Regions from separate parts of the Homo sapiens genome. Here all the other regions are linked to region 3. The links are contacts of gene promoters, found by promoter capture Hi-C in blood cells and fetal thymus (Javierre and others, 2016). All regions are on one chromosome and are shown on one strand. Each heading gives the region's core, a stretch centred on a gene start or on the middle of the fragment in contact. The rest is flanking DNA. Distances are from core to core; before and after follow the strand shown. Region 1 holds the start of NDUFA2 (NADH:ubiquinone oxidoreductase subunit A2). Region 2 holds the start of APBB3 (amyloid beta precursor protein binding family B member 3). Region 3 holds the start of LARS1 (leucyl-tRNA synthetase 1).

Evidence for each region. Contacts are between HindIII fragments. The CHiCAGO score rates a contact against its expected background, and 5 or more counts as called.
Region 1: the fragment with the promoter of NDUFA2 here is called in contact with the fragment with the promoter of LARS1 in region 3 in 1 of 17 cell types (naive CD8 T cells); the score reaches 6.5 in naive CD8 T cells.
Region 2: a contact is called between the fragment with the promoter of APBB3 here and the fragment with the promoter of LARS1 in region 3, in 1 of 17 cell types (naive CD8 T cells). The highest score is 10.1, in naive CD8 T cells.

What each region holds. Positions count from the first base shown.
Region 1 is chr5:140,646,007-140,649,135 of GRCh38, reverse strand. NDUFA2 (NADH:ubiquinone oxidoreductase subunit A2) reads left to right here and starts at 1,506. Exons shown (of 3, transcript NM_002488.5): 1 at 1,506-1,653; 2 at 1,774-1,880. The coding sequence starts at 1,553. It overlaps IK (IK cytokine), which reads right to left and starts at 1,307. Exons shown (of 20, transcript NM_006083.4): 1 at 1,212-1,307; 2 at 599-665. The coding sequence starts at 1,227. It overlaps MIR3655 (microRNA 3655), which reads right to left and starts at 1,292; the gene lies at 1,210-1,292. It also overlaps a transcript of TMCO6 not described here. RefSeq lists enhancers at 1,233-1,768, 1,509-1,928. The HindIII fragment of the contact is 1,275 bases long and covers 1,440-2,714 here.
Region 2 is chr5:140,562,809-140,565,999 of GRCh38, reverse strand. APBB3 (amyloid beta precursor protein binding family B member 3) reads left to right here and starts at 1,402. Exons shown (of 13, transcript NM_133173.3): 1 at 1,402-1,803; 2 at 2,085-2,248; 3 at 2,330-2,406. The coding sequence starts at 1,755. SLC35A4 (solute carrier family 35 member A4) reads right to left here and starts at 1,172. Exons shown (of 3, transcript NM_080670.4): 1 at 1,142-1,172; 2 at 29-127. LOC131768270 (SLC35A4 upstream open reading frame protein) reads right to left here and starts at 1,172. Exons shown (of 3, transcript NM_001394034.2): 1 at 1,142-1,172; 2 at 29-127. The coding sequence starts at 1,156. MIR6831 (microRNA 6831) reads left to right here and starts at 2,249; the gene lies at 2,249-2,329. RefSeq lists enhancers at 1,095-1,214, 970-1,576, 2,185-2,244 and a silencer at 1,535-1,714. The HindIII fragment of the contact is 4,216 bases long and covers 251-3,191 here.
Region 3 is chr5:146,180,791-146,183,976 of GRCh38, reverse strand. LARS1 (leucyl-tRNA synthetase 1) reads left to right here and starts at 1,327. Exons shown (of 32, transcript NM_020117.11): 1 at 1,327-1,489. The coding sequence starts at 1,484. RefSeq lists enhancers at 1-735, 1,644-1,803. The HindIII fragment of the contact is 6,101 bases long and covers 1-3,186 here.

The sequences.
Region 1 (3,129 bases), core at 257-2,756, 5.5 Mb after region 3:
GCCAGGCACGGTGGCTCACGCCTGTACTCCCACCACTTTGGGAGGCAGAGGCGGGTGGATCACCTGAAGTCGGGATTTCAAGACCAGCCTGATCAACATGGAGAAACCCCATCTCTACTAAAAATACAAAATTAGCCGGGCGTAGTGGAACATGCCTGTAATCCCAGCTACTCGGAAGGCTGAGGCAGGAGAATTGCTTGAACCCGGGAGGCGGAGGTTGTGGTGAGCCGAGATCGCACCACTGCATTCCAGCCTGAGCAACAAGAGCGAAACTCAGTCTCAAAAAAAATAAAAAGATGATTTTACCCTTATTTCCTATGTTTTAATTTGCTATTGGAAGAAGTAATTCCTATATAATGTGTAATTACACAACACGTATAAAAAAAAAAAAAAACTTAACACCTTTCCTGCAGGAATTTCCCTTCTAATACCCTTATGCACTTGGCCTGATCCAGTTAAGGCTCACAGAGATAAAGGGCCAGCGGGTATAATTTTTTACCATCCTTGATGACAAGACATTCAGAATTCTTTCACCATCACCACCACTTTTCTATTCATTGCCCAACTCATTTCCATGGTCCTAGCACAAAATACTCACTGGTGGAAGGAGTGAGGATCATCCACATCGTGGCCATCGGGGGCCAAAGGGTTGGAGAACGGCTCACCTGACAAAAAAAATTGACGTTAATTTAATCAGTCTCTTACGTGTCAGATCCTATGCAAAAATTTGAGATATAGTAGTGAACAATACAGAACAAAAGTTAGAACAGCGACAGTGTCAACACAATGTAATAAGTGCTGAAATAGGAAACTACAAGAAGCTGTGGGAGCACAAAGCAGAGGACCCTAATCCTGCGCTGGAGGATCAGAGAAGACTTCCGGAAGATCACGTCTAAAATACTACGTAAAAGATAAATACGCGCAACCCAGGATTAAGTATGGGGACAGGACTGGGGGAAAGCGATCCACGCACAAAAGCCGCCCATCATCACTTGGAGTAGGAGTGAGGACTGGGGACGGAGTTTGGAGCTGTCGGCCTCACTTAGGACCCTGTGGCTTCTCCGGGCTCAAGCGTCACACATACATACATACACACACACACACACACACACACACACACACACACACCCGGCTTAAGCTCAGAAGCTACAATAATGCGCCAAGTGCCCCAAGTGCCATGGGGAAGAAATAACGGATGGCCTGAGCCTTACTATCTCGCTCCGGCATTTTGTTATCGTTCTTTCGCTGTCACCAACAATCGAGTCTCCAACAGCAACACCGCAGCGACAAGCTCTTTCCCACAGTGCACCTCAGAATCAACCCACACTGCTTTGCGTTCGCAGCCTTTCCGCTTCCTGTTTTTCCCTCCGACCAACCCCGAGCGCAAAGAAATTGACCTCGCAGCGGTCCTACAATACTTTTATATCATTGGCCAAGCTTTACCCCGCCCCTGCCTCATGCAGCCTATGGGCTAGGCTTTAGGGTCCGCGGTTGGTCAGACCGGAGCACTTGGCCTGAAGACCTGGAATTGGCGACTTCGATATTAACAAGGATGGCGGCGGCCGCAGCAAGTCGAGGAGTCGGGGCAAAGCTGGGCCTGCGTGAGATTCGCATCCACTTATGTCAGCGCTCGCCCGGCAGCCAGGGCGTCAGGTGAGGCGCGGCGTGGTGAGGCGGGCGGGCTTCGGGACGCCAGGGTCACGACCTCGACCTCCCTGAAGTTGAGGGAAGCCCCCGCCCACAGCACGCGCGGCGCTCTCTCCGGCCCCGCAGGGACTTCATTGAGAAACGCTACGTGGAGCTGAAGAAGGCGAATCCCGACCTACCCATCCTAATCCGCGAATGCTCCGATGTGCAGCCCAAGCTCTGGGCCCGCTACGGTGAGTGCGGGACGCCAGGGGTCTGGGGCTCCGGTAGGGGAACAAGGGTTTGAGAAGAGAAGGGACCGCCCAAGGTCGTGCAGAAACCCGTGGAGAAACTAGAACTCGGACTTTAGCCTTGCTGTTGATCTTGTTTCCATGAAGAAATTTATATTCGCAGGGTTATATGATGCGTTGTATTCCGGGCAACATAAGTATGCAGGCTGACCGAATCCTGCGTAGGGACCAGGAGCTGACGTTTTTGTAGTTAAGAATGGGCTTCAGACAGGAGAGAAGTTAGTCAATATAGTTTCTCCAAATAACGTGTAGCCAGTGTCAGTCCAGGTAGTGTGTGAGAATCTCAGTAATTTTGCACATAGAGCTGGGCCCTGTGCTGAGTGCTTCCCTGCCTAACTCATTTAATCTTCATTAGTTAGGAGGAAGCGTGTTCTTCTTTTCTCACTGTAGAGATTAGAAAACGGAATCAAAACTTTGTTTTGCACTATTGTTAAACTCTAGCTGCAACTTTAGATGCAGCTAGAGTTTAACAGGATTGAGCCTTTACATTTATTCCCCTTCCTAGAATGCACTTACCCCTCTAAGACTGGCATGGCAATGTATTGCAAAATGAAATTTTCCTATCATGTTGCCTAACACATTGTAGGTATGCAATAAATGTTTATACATACTGAATAACAGGATTTTAATCACAGCTTTTAACTATATGGTGCCCTGGGAATGACGGGAGGAGGTGGAGGAGAGTGACCACCTTAAGCAGATTGGTTCTCAGAGTAGATATCTGTGAGACACAGTAGACATTAGACATGCACTAATAATTGGAGAAGGAAAAAAGCTTCTCCTTCCAAAAGCCAGTAGACTACAGGAGGAGATAGACACGAGTAACTTTAGTGTATTGTGCTGGGTATTATGTTAGATAGCCTATGGGAGCCTAGAGAATGGGTACCCAGCTGGGTGCGGTGGTTCACGCCTGTAATCCCAGCACTTTGGGAGGCTGAAGCAGGTGGATCACCTGAGGTCAGGAGTTCAAGACCAGCCTGGCCAACATGGTAAAACCCCGTCTCTACTAAACATACAAAAATTAGCCGGGTGTGGTGGCGGGCACCTGTAATCCCAGCTACTCAGGAGGCTGAGGCAGGAGAATTGCTTGAACCCAGGAGGTGGAGGTTGCAGTGAGTGGAGATCGTGCCACCACACTCCAGCCTGGGTGACAGAGCGAGACTCCGTCTCAAAAAAAAAAAAAAAAAAAGAG
Region 2 (3,191 bases), core at 153-2,652, 5.6 Mb after region 3:
GGCAGGGGTGGGGTGGGACAGTCCTTACCTGGCCCACTCCACTGTTGACTTCGTCTTCTACACGCCGCTGCAGGCTTTCCAGCTGGTTCTTGAGAAATGCCAGGTCCTTAAGCTTAGGCAGAGAATCCTAGGACAAGCGAGAGGCTGGCTCCAGCAGTCTGACTAAGCCCCACCCCTTGCTCAATTCCATCAGAAGCTGGGAATTGGGAGGGGATGGGGTGAGCCAGAAAGACCTTTTCCTATAAAAGCTTCCTGAGATGGCAGTGGCAAAGAAAGACAAGCATTGAAAAGCACAGAATTCAAATGAGGGCCAGGAAGGGACTGACAGATGGGATCTGAACCAGTAACTTACATCAACCTTGACAAGAATTTTATATAGCAAGCAGTATGTAGGAAAGGCAGGAGGGACAGCTAGGGACCTTTAATTAGGTCCATCAGGAAACCACTACTGACTCCATTATGAGCTCCTTGAAAGTCGTGACCAGTCTGTCTTGGCTACTATGTTCTAGTGCCTGACATTTAGTAAATGTGTGGGTAATGCTGAGCTTCTAGACCAATGGTGAGTAATGGACCGAGGCAGTTTCCTGGACAATTTTATTGTCTTGGTTCCTGGATGGGCTTTACCTCTTTCTTCCCAAGGACATCCCAAACTGAATGTGAGTGACTGGATGTGACTGAGAATGACAAAAAAGACTGTCGGCAAGTGTGTAAGTAAATGGACTGAGTGATTTTGATCGCATATAAGTATGAAATTCAGAATGTATGCAAAGGAGTGTTTGAATGAGGGTGGTGTGAGTGTCCGTGTGATTGGAAACATCGTGTCACTGGGAAGAAAATTTCGGGAGCTAGGGAATGGGGTAAAGTGAGGAGTGTTTAAGGGTGAATGTTTTTGAGTCTGTGCTAGTAACGGGTTCGTGATGGTTCCCAGGAGGGGACATCTGGGGGATCCACGGCTCCTCCCGCCTCGCCGAATGCTCTCCCCACACCACTCCACACTGTTGAGGCAGTTGACAGGAGCCGCAGAAGAAACAAGGGACATCCTCACTCCTGAGCCGCTCCAGAGTCGCTTCTCCCCGGAACTAAAAAGGTCAAGGAGAGTGAAGACCACGCCCGGCTGCAGATCACCCCCACGGCCACTCACCTTGTCATCCGCCATCTTCCCCGCCGAACTTGTTGCGCAGGCGCATCCCCGCCTCCCTCGTGCCGACTGCCCCGGCCATCTTTACGGAGGGCGAAGGCACTTCCGGAGCATTTTTGGAAAGGGGGAGGTGCTTTCCTAGTGGCCAAGTACGCCTCTCTCAGATACTTCCACGTGACCCCCTCCCGTCGAGTCTCAGGCTGCGTGTGAGCGCACTCACGACCGGGGCGCGATGATCTCACTCGTGCGCGAGTGCGCGCGGCGCATGTTCGGCGTGTCGGTCTTCAGGCGCCTGATGAGTTCATAGTTGGGCGGTGGTGTCAGCGGTTTCGCTGGCGTTCGTGGGCCTCCCCCGGACCCACACACGGAAACACGCAACCATTCGGGGATCCAGACGCCCGTTTACACGCACCACCCCTGGGCGGGCTGTGCGGCTCAGGCCCTCCCCCGGGACCGGCCCGTGTCCCGCCCCGTGTCCCGCCCCGTATTTGTGCGGCGCCAGCTGGCCCCGCAGCCTGCGGCGCAGAGAGGCTGGGCTTGCAGGCGCAGTAGCTCCAGAGGTCGCGCTGGGCTGAGAGTGCGGGCCGGCAGAGGCTGGCGGGGAGCAGCCGGGGTTATGCTGGGCAAGGATTACATGCTGGCCATCATTCTGGTCAACTGCGATGGTGTGCACGGAGGGGCCCGGTGGGAAGACCAGGAGCTGAGGGAGGACGAGGGAATCCGAAAGGCTACTCTGGGGCTCAAAGACGGTGGGGGATACCTCTCTGTGTAGGGACCAGGGGGCGAATGAACCCGGTCTTTACATGTGATGTCTTCAAGATTGAGGAGCCTGGATCTTCAGCCTAAGAACTGACCCATTTTGGGGATGGAGAGGGGATTATGACAGCATGTTATTCTGAACTCACAAATCATATGCTCCCTCCTCTCTAATCCGGTGTTCCTGTAGATGACTTGTGGGGGGACCACAGTCTGGAGGTGGAGGCTGGCCTGCCTCCTGGCTGGAGGAAGATCCACGATGCTGCAGGTACTTACTACTGGCATGTACCCAGCGGTAGCACCCAGTGGCAGCGCCCAACCTGGGAACTAGGAGATGCAGAGGACCCAGGCACGGTAGGTAGAGTGTGAGGAGGAGGTCTGAGCCCATGTGTGGACCTAGGTCTGCTGTTAAACTGACTAACTCCCACTCTACAGGGAACGGAGGGGATCTGGGGACTGCGGCCCCCCAAAGGGAGATCCTTCTCCAGCCTGGAGAGTTCACTGGACCGGAGGTAACGGGTGGCCCAGGCAAAATGAAAGGCTTGGGGTTCCATGGTGTTCAAAAATGCAGCTGGACCCATGGTCTGCTTTCCAGCCCAGGTTCTGGATTCTGTCACATGTTTTGGGTTCTGTTACGTTCTTGGCTCTGTCCCAGGTTCTTAACTGTCAGTATTTTGAGTTTTATCCCTTGTTCTAAGCTCTTGTTTGTAGCTACATGTTTTTCATATTCTTGGTCCTAACCTATCATGTTCTAGACCTTGGCCATTAAGTCCTCTGTTCTAGGGTCTCTTGTCCCACTTTGGGGTTCTGGTCCACATATTGGACCCTGTTCTATTTTGTGACTTTTATTTTTTATTTTTTGAGATGGAGTCTCACTCTGTCATCCAGGCTGGAGTGCAGTGGCACGATCTTGGCTCACTGCAACCTCCGCCTCCCAGGTTCAAGTCATTCTCCTGCCTCAGCCTCCTGAGTAGCTGAAACTACAGGCACATGCCACCATGCCCAGCTAATGTTTGTATTTTTAGTAGATATGGGGTTTCACCATGTTGGCCAGGATGGTCTCGATATCCTGACCTCATGATCCACCCGTCTCAGCCTCCCAAAGTGTTGGGATTACAGGCGTGAGCCACCACTGCACCTAGCCTTGTGACTTTTATTCTATGTCCTGTGTCTGGGTCCTATGTCCTGAATTTTCCCTCAAATTCTGAGTCACACTTTATGTTACGTTAATATGTCCTGGGCTCTACCCTGCTCTGGTTTTATATTTCTGGTGCTATATTCTGGGTCTTGCCCCTCA
Region 3 (3,186 bases), core at 78-2,577:
CTGGGTTCAAGCAATTTTCCTGCCTCAGCCTCCCGAGTAGCCGGGACTACAGGTGCACGCCACCATACCCAGCTAATTTTCGTATTTTTAGTAGAGACGGGGTTTCACCATGTTGGCCAGGCTGGTCTCAAACTCCTGACCTCAGGTCATCCGCCCACCTCGGCATCCCAAAATAATGGGATTATGGCCACCGCCCCTGGCCCTGTTTGGTAGTGGTCTAAATAGTCTGAGTCAGGCAATGGGACCAGGTAGGCTTTCAGTCTCTTGCTTAAAAATGGAGATTGTTGGCCGGGCACGGTGGCTCACGCCTGTAATCCCATCACTTTGGGAGGCTGGGGCGGGCGGATCACGAGTTCAGGAGATCGAGACCATCCTGGCCAATATGGTGAAACCCCGTTTCTACTGAAAATACAAAAATTAGCTGGGCGCGGTGGCGCGCGCCTGTAGTCCCAGCTACTAAGGAGGCTGGGGCAGAAGAATCGCTTGAACCCGGGAGGCGGAGGTTGCAGTGAGCCGAAACCGCGCCACTGCACTCCAGCCTGGAGACAGAACGAAACTCCCTCTCAAAAAAAAAAAAAAAAAAAAAAAAAAAAAAGGAGATTGTTGGCTAGGTACGGTAGCTCACGCCTGTAATCCTAGCACTTTGGGAGGCCGAGGGAGGCAGATCACGAGGTCAGGAAATCGGGATCATCCTGGCTAACAAGGTGAAACCCAGTCTCTACCAAAAATACAAAAAATTAGTCGGTGTGGTGGCGCGCGCCCATAGTCCCAGCTCCTCGGGAGCCTGAGGCAGGAGAATTGCTTGAATCCGGCAGGCCGAGGTTGCACTGAGCCAAGATCGCGCCACTGCACTCCAGCCTGGGCGACAGAGCGATACTGCGTCTCAAAAAAAAAAAAGGAGATTGTCAATACGCGGTTATACAATGTCTAAATGCTGGGCTGTTGAATGCCACTGACAGTAAAAAATATCTGTGCATAGTGGCAAGCCATAAGTAGCACCTCAGTCACCGTATAGTAATTAACTGCGTATCCTGGCATCCCGACAGGCAACCAGCTCTACCGGGTGAAAAGGTTGATGGCCAAGGGACTCCAACCTAACCAGGGCGCACTCGCGGCATTCTGCGATCCCGCACTGCATCATGGACTTTGTAGTTCAACATGCCAGTGACGTCACTGCCGGTTCCCCTCTGAGTGGGCCTATCGGGTAGACTTCCGATAACCCGTTTTTCTCTGGGAATTGTAGTCAGTTAGCGCCTGCTGGGTGTCTGCTCGGGTGGTCTGGGAACTACAATTCCCGGCGGGCTGTGAGATGCCTTGGCTGTAGTTAGTAAGGAGCCGGATGATTGCCTCAGCAGGTGTGAAGCGTGTGCTTTAGTTTCGTGGGAGGCCTGGCATCCCCGAGAGGGAGGGGAAAGGTAACCACTCCTTTGTGGAGGTCGCCAGGGTCATTGTCGTGGATTTGCACAGTCGGCTGGGCGGTGCAATGGCGGTGAGTTTGAGCGAGAAGAATCCGCAGGGGCCCTGGAGCCGGACTGGCCAGTCTCTAGGGGCTCTCCATGTGCTGTCCTGAAGGGAAAGTCCTTTTCTAAAAGAGAGCCACGCTTAAGGCGTGCCTTTCGTAGAGACTTTGCTTTTTCTTGCTAGTTTATGAACCACGAACTGATGTCTGTTAACTTTACGGAGTACTTGGATATCATATTTGTTATTTCTCTGGAGTTTCTAAAATCGAGGTGGAGAGCCGGGCACGGTGGCCCACGGCTGTAATCCCAGCACTTTGGGAGGCCGAGGCGGGTGGATCATTTGAGGTCAGGAGTTCGAGACCACCCTGGCCAACATGGTGAGACCCCGTTTCTACCAAAAATACATAAATTAGCCGGGCGTAGTGGTGCGCGCCTGTTAACCCAGCTACTCGGGAGGCTGAGGCAGGAGAATTGCTTGAACCCGGGAGAGGGAGGCTGCTGTGAGCCAGGATCGCGCCACTGCACTCCAGCCTGGGCGACAGAGTGAGACTCCGTCTTAAAAATAAAATAAATAAATAAACAAACAAATAAAGCCGAGGTGGAGAGAGGAGTATGTAAGTTGATTCCTACTTACAGCAAAAAAAAAAAAAAAAAAAAAAAAAAAAAAAGAAAAAATTGAGCGCCTCTCCGTAAAACAGACAAAAATCTCTCTTTTCATAGTGTTTATGTGTGTGGGTAAAATACATTGTAAAATATTGTGTCAGGTGCTGATAAATGCTGTGGGGAAAAAATAGAGCAGGAAGGGGTGCTAGGGAGTGTACGGTGGGGTAGTACAGTTGCAATTTTTAAAAATTTTTTTAAATTTGGGAGATGTTCTCACTCTGTGACCCAGACTGGAATGCAGTGGCGTGATCATGGCTCACTGCAGCCTGGACCTTAGGGCTCAAGCGATCCTCACACCTCAGCCTCCCCACAGCTGGTACTGCAAGCGTGCTCCATTACACCCTGCTAATTTTTTGTATTTTTAGTAGAGACAGGGTTTCGAACTCCTGGGGTCAAGCGATCCTTCTGTCTCAGCCTCCGAAAGTGCTGGGACTACAGGCATGAGCCATCCCGCCTGGTTTTATTTTTTTTTGTTTTTTGTTTGTTTGTTTGTTTTTTTCTTGAGACGGAGCCTTGCCCTGTCGCCAGGCTGGAGTGCAGCGGCGCGATCTCGGCTCACTGCAACCTCCTCCTCCCAGGTTCAAGCGGTTCCCCTGCCTCAACTTCCCGAGTAGCTGGGACTACAGGCGCGCGCCACCATGCCCAGTTAAATTTTTTGTATTTTAGTAGAGACAGGGTTTCACCACATTGGCCAGGATGGACTCAATTTCCTGACCTCGTGATCTGCCCGCCTCGGCCTCCCAAAGTGCTGGGATTACAGGCGTGAGCCATGGCGCCTGGCCTGTTGCAATTTTTAAAAGGATGATCAAGCAAGGCTTTGCCAAAAAGGTGGCAAAAACGAGGTAAGAGAGCAACCTATGCAACTATAGGAAGAAAGAGATTTCCAGGCAGGGGCAACAGTGTAAGTGAAAAGCAGGGATCCCGGGTAGAAGCCAGGGATGCTTCTAAACATCCTGCAGTGCACAGGACAACCCCTGAAAACAAAGAATTATTTGGCCCAAAGTGTAAGTAGTGCCAAAGTTTAGGAACTCTGATTTAGTTATATAGCCTTTTGTTACCAGTG